Linked DNA regions of Homo sapiens: region 2 is linked to region 1. The links are contacts of gene promoters, found by promoter capture Hi-C in blood cells and fetal thymus (Javierre and others, 2016). All regions are on one chromosome and are shown on one strand. Each heading gives the region's core, a stretch centred on a gene start or on the middle of the fragment in contact. The rest is flanking DNA. Distances are from core to core; before and after follow the strand shown.

Region 1 (3,614 bases), core at 551-3,050:
CAGCATGGAGGTGGCGAGGGGCGGGGGAAGGTGTTTAAGACAGAGGAAAAGGAAAGTTAATCAGAAAAAAAACAAAACAAAACAAAAACGGACTTCTATTTTTCAAGAGAAGCCGTTTATGCAAAAATTCTGCACTCAAGATAGATGAGGCAACAAGAATAAGCCACTCTTAACCAGGCAAAACAGCAACACAACCACTTAACAAATCCCTCTGGGAATTCAATGGGTACAGCATATACCCCACAGTCATACCCGTAAGTGGAATTCCAGTTGGGCCCTTGTGCCGAAGCTTTAGACCACGAGGCACGTCCTCACCTCCAAGATGTAACTCATCTCAAATAATGGAGACCAGGCCACGAGGTTTCTCCCAGACACGGATTCTGTATTTGTCCTTCTGCAGCTTCCGGGAAGGTTTTTCTCCTAATAAATCCTGTAGAAAGTTCCACTCAGGGTTCTGAGGATTGATACAACCCCCTTCTTGACTGATCAGAGCTTTAGAAAGATTCGCTATGACCACAGGACTGTGTCAAGTTGAACAAGTCTCAACTTGTCGCTGCCAGTATGCAAAATAGGTCTGAAACATCTTATAACAGACAACACAGCAGACACAGTCCCTGCATCCTCAGGGCCCCCGCCCACCCACCACACACAAACACATTTCTCTAGAGTTTTTTTTTCCTAGCAAGGAACTAGCCCCAGTAGCCAGGATTCACAGTGGTGGAGTGGGCGAGAGACAGGCTAACAGCCTCTCTCTGGAAAACCTAATACCAGAAAGGAAACACCAAAACCTCATCCTCTTGTCCCTAAATCCTTGCACGTGATTTCTTCTCCTCTCTAATGTTCTAGAAGGGCCTAAAGTCAGGAGCTTAGATGAACAGAAGAATCTTCCATGCCTGCAAACCACCAGGAAAAGGCATGAGGCATCCACACACAGACGCATGCAGCTTCATGGCTGTGCTTCCTGAAAGTCTACACCCAGAACCACAAACACTGGCATAAATAAGAGCACGTTAGCAAGAGAAGGCAAACCTAATTAAATCAACAGCCCAGCCAAGAAGAATGACCATGATGAGGGTTTAGGAGCACCCAACAAACCCTCACATGCGATGCAAAAACTGAGAAAGTCTCAAAACACGGAGTTACTGAGTTTTTGGAAATCACCTTCGCCCAGCCCTGAGGGGGTGTGAGAGGAAGCGGGGAGTGATGGTCAAAGGATGGAGGGAGGATCACACATTCACAGACCTCTAGTTTCGCCAGAGGGGCCTCCAAACCACATCATGGCTCCAAATCTGTTCTGACTGCAGAGGGGTCTATTTTTAGAAATTAGTTAATATGCCTTTGATCAAGTTCATAAATCCAGAATTGCCTCTATGCACCGGCCATTCGGTGTCATCCCCCTCCCCTCACCCTCCCCAAACGCCCAAACTCGCCACCAGTCTTGAGGCTGGTGATGAGGACAGTGCACGCCTAGCACACACATATTGGATTCCGAAAGCCCCTTTCCTCCGTCCGACTACTCACAGCGCATCCCTACTCAGGGCCAAGTCTCGAGAGTTTCCAGAAACGCAGGGGACAAAATTGGAACTTACTGGAGGGCAGATCTGGCCGTGTCTCCACAGGTCACAGGGACCGCCAACATCCTTTCCGCAAGGAAATCCACTGGAAGGTGCCGGGGGTCCCGGGGCACATCTTTGCTCGCAGCTCGTCGTCGCCCCTCCTCGTCCCGGCCGCCCCGAGCCCGCCCGGCCCGCGGGCCCATGTGCTCGGCCGCCACACGCGCTCTGCCCGGAGGAGCGCGGGGCTGGCGGGTTGCCCGTGACGTCACGGCGGCTCGCGCTCGGGCCTCGGGGGAGGGGGGAGGCGCGCGCGGCCCGGCCCGCCGCGTGCGTCCTCGGTCCCGGCGCTCCCGGCCTTCCCCAGGTCCCCGCCCGCCGCCCGGTGCGCCCCTCAGCCTGCTTCCCGGCAGCGCAGGGCACTGAGCCGGAGAGGGCCGCGCGCGGAGGCGGGGCGGGCTTGGGCGACTGCGGCCGCCAAGGGCCCAGACTGGGGGAGCGGAGGGTAGGCTCTGCCCTGGGCTGGGGGTCCTCGCTACAAGCGCGCCGGAGTCCCACCGGGCCGGAGGGAATCCCCGGTGATGCCAGCTCGCTTGTGCGCCGAGCTTTCCACGGTCTTTCCCTGAGCCCTCTTACCCTTCCCCACACCGTCCTGGAAGCAAGCGGTCTTCCCACTTTCCTGCTGAGGAAGGCGAGTTCAGTGAAATAGGAGGGCCAGAGATGCTCCGGGATAGGTGCAGTTCCCGCAGAAGACCGCCGACTGAGCTCCAGCTCCAGTGATCTGAGCGCCTCTTTGGGTACCACCCAGCATCCGCCGGCCTGGTGAGAAGGGCGCGCGCACCTTCTCGCCTCCTTCGACGTCTCCCGCTGTTTCCAGAAGCCGAGTTGCAAACCCGTGCAGAGGGCCAGCGGTCTGCGCAGCTCCCTCCACTCCGGGCAGAGTTGACCTACAGAGTGTGTTCAACGAGTCCCTTAAATGCCCAGTAGTTCCTCCAAAGGAGCAAGTGGACACTGGCCTCCCATGTGGGATGTGGTTATCTTGTTCTATCTGCATAAACCCGAGACTGGACAGATGTAAGAGCTGCCCCTGTTCAGTTCAAAGTTTATTTTATTTATTTATTTATTTATTTATTTATTTATTTATTTAGAGATGAAGTTTCACTCTGTCACCCAGGCTGGAGTGCAGTGGCCCGATCATGGCTCACTGCAACCTCCGCCTGCCTGGTTCAAGCGATTCTCCTGCCTCAGCCTCCGGAGTAGCTGGGATCACAGGCGCGCGCCACCACGCCCAGCTAATTTTTGTAATTTTAGCAGAGACAAGGTTTCACCATGTTGGCCAGGCTGGTCTCGAACTCCGAACCTGAGATGATCCACTCGCTTCGGCCTCCCAAATTGCTGGGATTACAGGCGTGAGCCACCACGCCAGCGCCCGTCCAGTTCAACGTCTACTGAGCACTTAAGGGGAGTCAGGCACCCAGCTAGGCAATGGGGTGGGGGTTACTCATGGACCCTAGAAGGACGTCACAAACCAGCAAAAATTGGACACACAAATGGGTGGTATCAATATTACGGAACAGAAGGTTGCCCCTCTTCTCCCCTGCCGGCTACCCTACATCCTACTCACTCCAACCTACCCGGAGGCTCCTCCCTCTTTCTGTGTAGTGTTTCATCACATCTCTTCCCGTGGCGGCTTCTCAACGCAAATGTTCTTATTTGAAAAAGAAAAAACAATTACTCAGTTGATGCTCCTGTTCTGCCTGTTTCACAGATTCATTTACACTCATGGGCATCTCTTTTGTGCCTGGCTCCTTGCCAGGAGCTGGACAAGTCTCCGCTTTGTGCCTGGCTCTCTGTGAGGGGCTGGACAGGTGTCTGTTTTGTGCCTGGCTCTCTGTGAGGGGCTAGACAGGTGTCTGTTTTGTGCCCGGCTCTGAGAGGGACTGGGCAGGTGCCTGAGCTGCAGTTGGCATCTAGTTGTCATCCATCTTTTAAAATATAAAAAGAAGATGATGAGAAACCTCTGCATCTATACATCATGCGATAGGAGCTGTGAGACCTTAA
Region 2 (3,614 bases), core at 669-3,168, 830 kb before region 1:
TGTGAAAACTTTGGAGAGTTTATCTTACTTTTGCAGCCTTTTATACCCTGGATAATTTGTAGATTATATTTACCAAGGCAGGACGCTGAGAATCCAGGTTTATACTAGTAAAGGACGGCTGGTGGGGGTCCAAGAAAACAGTAGAACATTTAGCAGACTTCGGTGGTCTCATTAAGCTTAGTATGTGTTTTCTAATTTCACCTGGATTTTTATTCATATCATACAACCTAACAGCTCACATGTCAGCTTACCATATGGAGACTCTCAGTTCTGCATGCGTAAGTCATAAAGGATCTCAGTAAAGTCTCATTGCCTTTACAGTGGTATTTTGATAAGTGCACTTACTTTGTTGTCATGTCTTTGTCTTTCTACTCCAGTGCCTATCTAATTACCTGTCACATAGTCAGAGCTCAATAATGCTTCCCAAAGCATTCATCTGCATCATTGCTCGGTACCTTAATCTCTTCCTTCACGGTCTCTTGCAAATATTATGTCATAATCTACCCACAAGCCACCAAGAAGTAGGTGGAAAATGTTATTCTCATTTCACTGATGGCAAATATCAGATAAAATAGGAACCACATGATTTACCTGTTATCTTACATAGCGTTAAGGGCACAAATATAGTTTGCAAAATAGTATTTGTTAAGTCAAATGTCGCTGAGAGACAGTGAAGTGAAACAGAATGAGTGTGGAATCTGCAACAAATTCTAGAGCTCATTTTTACTAGCTTCTGTCAACTGTGTCAGTTACTTCCCTTGGTTTTCTTGGGTACCAAGCTTCAATGCCTTTCAGGTGCATTGTAATTTTTGGCTAAAAAGAATGACTGTCTACAATTTCATGATGCTCAAACAGTTCTGTGCATATTCAAAAAGTTTTATTTCAGTTTTATGCCCAACTAACTTTCCTTCTGTAACTCAGTCTCAAGTACAGGTGTGACAGTGATATAGGACAAAGCTGGGGGAGTCCTAGTGTTAAATAGATAGCACACTGGTTTTCTTATTTCCAAAGGCTAACAGAAGATTCTTTCCCTGGCTTTCTTATTAAAATGCATTGTCTCCCATGATGTGTCTCAACCTTTCTGATAAAGTGTCTTGTGATAGTTCCGCTTTATTGATGAGCCAGACATGATTATATTTGAAATATCAAGTGTAGGCATAGAATAGGGTGAAGCTGGAATCATTAACCATAGAGATATGTACAGGGTACAATTGGGACAAAGAGATAAATGAGAGAAGCAATCAAGTAAACTTAGAGAAGGAGGAATAAAAGGGGGCATAGGAAAAATTTCAATGTAAAAGTGATTCTTCTGTTAGATCTTGAAGGATCCTGGTGACTAAAAATCTCACCAAGGCAACACAAAATTAAAACCACTTTAGCTAAAGGAAACCAAGGAGGCAAAGAAGTGGGAACCATGGCCGGGTGTGATGGCTCATGCCTCTAATCCCAGCACTTTGGGAAGCTGAGGTGAGCAGATCACTTGAGGTCAGGAATTCTAGACCAGCCTGGCCAACATGGTGAAACCCCCTCTCTACTAAAAATACAAAAAGTCCAGGCATGGTGGTGCATGCTTGTAATCCCAGCTACTCAGGAGGCTGAGGCATGAGAATTGCTTGAACCCGGGAGGCAGAAGTTGCAGTGAGTCAAGATTGCACCACCACACTCCAGCCCGGGCAACAGAGTGAGGCTCTGTCTCAATTAAAAAAAAAAAAAAAGTGAGAACCACTATCATGGTAGGAGGCAATCAATTCTGTTTTAGCAGAAAACACCAGGGGGTATATGGCTAGAGATGGAGCAGAAAAAGGGCTTTTAATACTCATGAATGAAAGAAAGGAAAGAATAAAGGACAGAAAAGAGGGAAGGAGGATGGGGAAGGAAGAGGGAGAAAGAGAGACAGAAAGACAGAGAGAGACAGAAGAAAATTGTTAGAGGCATTATTACAAAATATATTTATTAGTTTGGCATTTAAAACTTTCTCTAGACTTAGATTTATTTGTTTTGAGATGAAGTCTCACTCTGTAGCTCAAGCTGGAGTGCAGTGGTACAGTCTCGGCTCACTGCAACTTCTGCCTCTGGGGCTCAAGCGATTCTTGTGCCTCAGTCTCCCAAGTAGCTGGGACTACAGGTACACGCCACCATGCCCAGCTAATTTTTGTATTTTCGCAGAGATGGGGTTTCACCATGTTGCCCAGGGTGGTCTCGAACTCCTGAGCTGAGTTGTGTTTTTTTTTTTGAAACGCAGTCTTGCTCTGTCACCCAGGCTGGAGTGCAGTGGGCCAATCTAGGCTCACTGCAACCTCTGCCTCCTGGGTTCAAGCGATTCTCCTGCTTCAGTCTCCCGAGCAGCTGGGACTAAGGGCGTGTGCCACCACGCTCGGTTAATTTTTTTTATTTTTAGTAGAGGTGGGGTTTCACCGTGTTAACCAGGATGGTCTCAATCTCCTGACCTCGTGATCCACCCGCCTTGGCCTCCCAAATTGCTGGGATTGCAGGCGTGAGCCACCGGGCCTAGCCTGAGTTTTAATACAGGCCCTTTGATTTCAAAGCCCATGCTTATTCTCTGGTGCCACCCAGCACCTCCAAGATAACTTCTGGTGAGGACTTTGCTGTCACTGAAACTGGTAAATTCTGATGTTTGCTTACAAATTAGCAGTGCTCCTTTGTGCTTAAACTTTAACAGTTTGAATGAGATAGTTGCCACCTCACTTTGGATCTCTTTCCCATAGTCCCAAAGCACTTTGAAGGGCCTATGTAAGAAGAGACAACTGAACAGATATTTACTAAAGCCCAACTCTGACTTTAATTAGACCTATAATTTTGGCAAGACACACAAAACTTTTCTTTCAAGGTTTTTCATTTAGTAAAATATTTTAAAGGAGATCAGTTTTGAATATTTAAGTAAGAAGCTCATGTGGGGATATTAGAAAGATCTGGGTTTGAACCTTCACTCTGCCACTTTCTACATGCATAATCTTTATTATTAGTTAACTGCTTTGACACTCAGATTTCTTATTTTTAAAATGGGGAAAATGAAAATCATACGTTTTCAAAGCTTTCATATGAAGATGAAATATGACCACATCTGTAATGTTCCTACTGCAGTACCTACTACAGATCTTTAGAAGTAGAAGGTAAATTTACTTTTCACATGCACAGAGCTTCATATGAAAGAAAAATTGTCCTTATACTTTCTGACCTCGGTTATGGAGCAAATACCAAGTGATTGGGCTGCTTTGGAGAATTTCCCAGGAGGTTTGGGGCAGAGGTGGGAAACCCCCTCTGTTGCATGTCTAAGTACAAGATTTCAATTCAGAGACAGTCTGCAGGGCTTTTGCCTAATACATTATTTCCATTACTTCCCCTGCACCCATCTTTACTTTCTCCATCCATCCTACCAACCATGTCGGAACCCTCTGCCAGAATTCTCTGCTCCAACTTCACAGCCAGGCTGAGCTAGGCTGATTCACAAAGGCTGTTCCCAAGTTGAAGACTGGCCAGGATCAGCAGTGAAAGTTGATTGGTTTGGCATGGGCAGTGATTAATGATTAATCAGAATCAGTGTTAGCTGAACACCACAACTATGGCCATGCCATTCTGAACAGGCAACAAATCAG

The links. Contacts are between HindIII fragments. The CHiCAGO score rates a contact against its expected background, and 5 or more counts as called.
Region 2: a fragment that was not itself captured here is called in contact with the fragment with the promoter of PVT1 in region 1 in 1 of 17 cell types (non-activated CD4 T cells); the score reaches 5.0 in non-activated CD4 T cells.

What each region holds. Positions count from the first base shown.
Region 1 is chr8:127,792,710-127,796,323 of GRCh38, reverse strand. PVT1 (Pvt1 oncogene) reads right to left here and starts at 1,800. Exons shown (of 9, transcript NR_190187.1): 1 at 1,590-1,800. It overlaps MIR1204 (microRNA 1204), which reads right to left and starts at 362; the gene lies at 296-362. RefSeq lists enhancers at 325-664, 765-814, 536-1,107, 1,108-1,677, 2,820-3,390 and silencers at 1,795-1,954, 1,965-2,024, 2,045-2,094. The HindIII fragment of the contact is 6,547 bases long and covers 292-3,614 here.
Region 2 is chr8:128,626,406-128,630,019 of GRCh38, reverse strand. No RefSeq gene overlaps it. Among named protein-coding and RNA genes, the nearest start is that of LINC00824, 64 kb to the right of the region's middle. The HindIII fragment of the contact is 2,273 bases long and covers 782-3,054 here.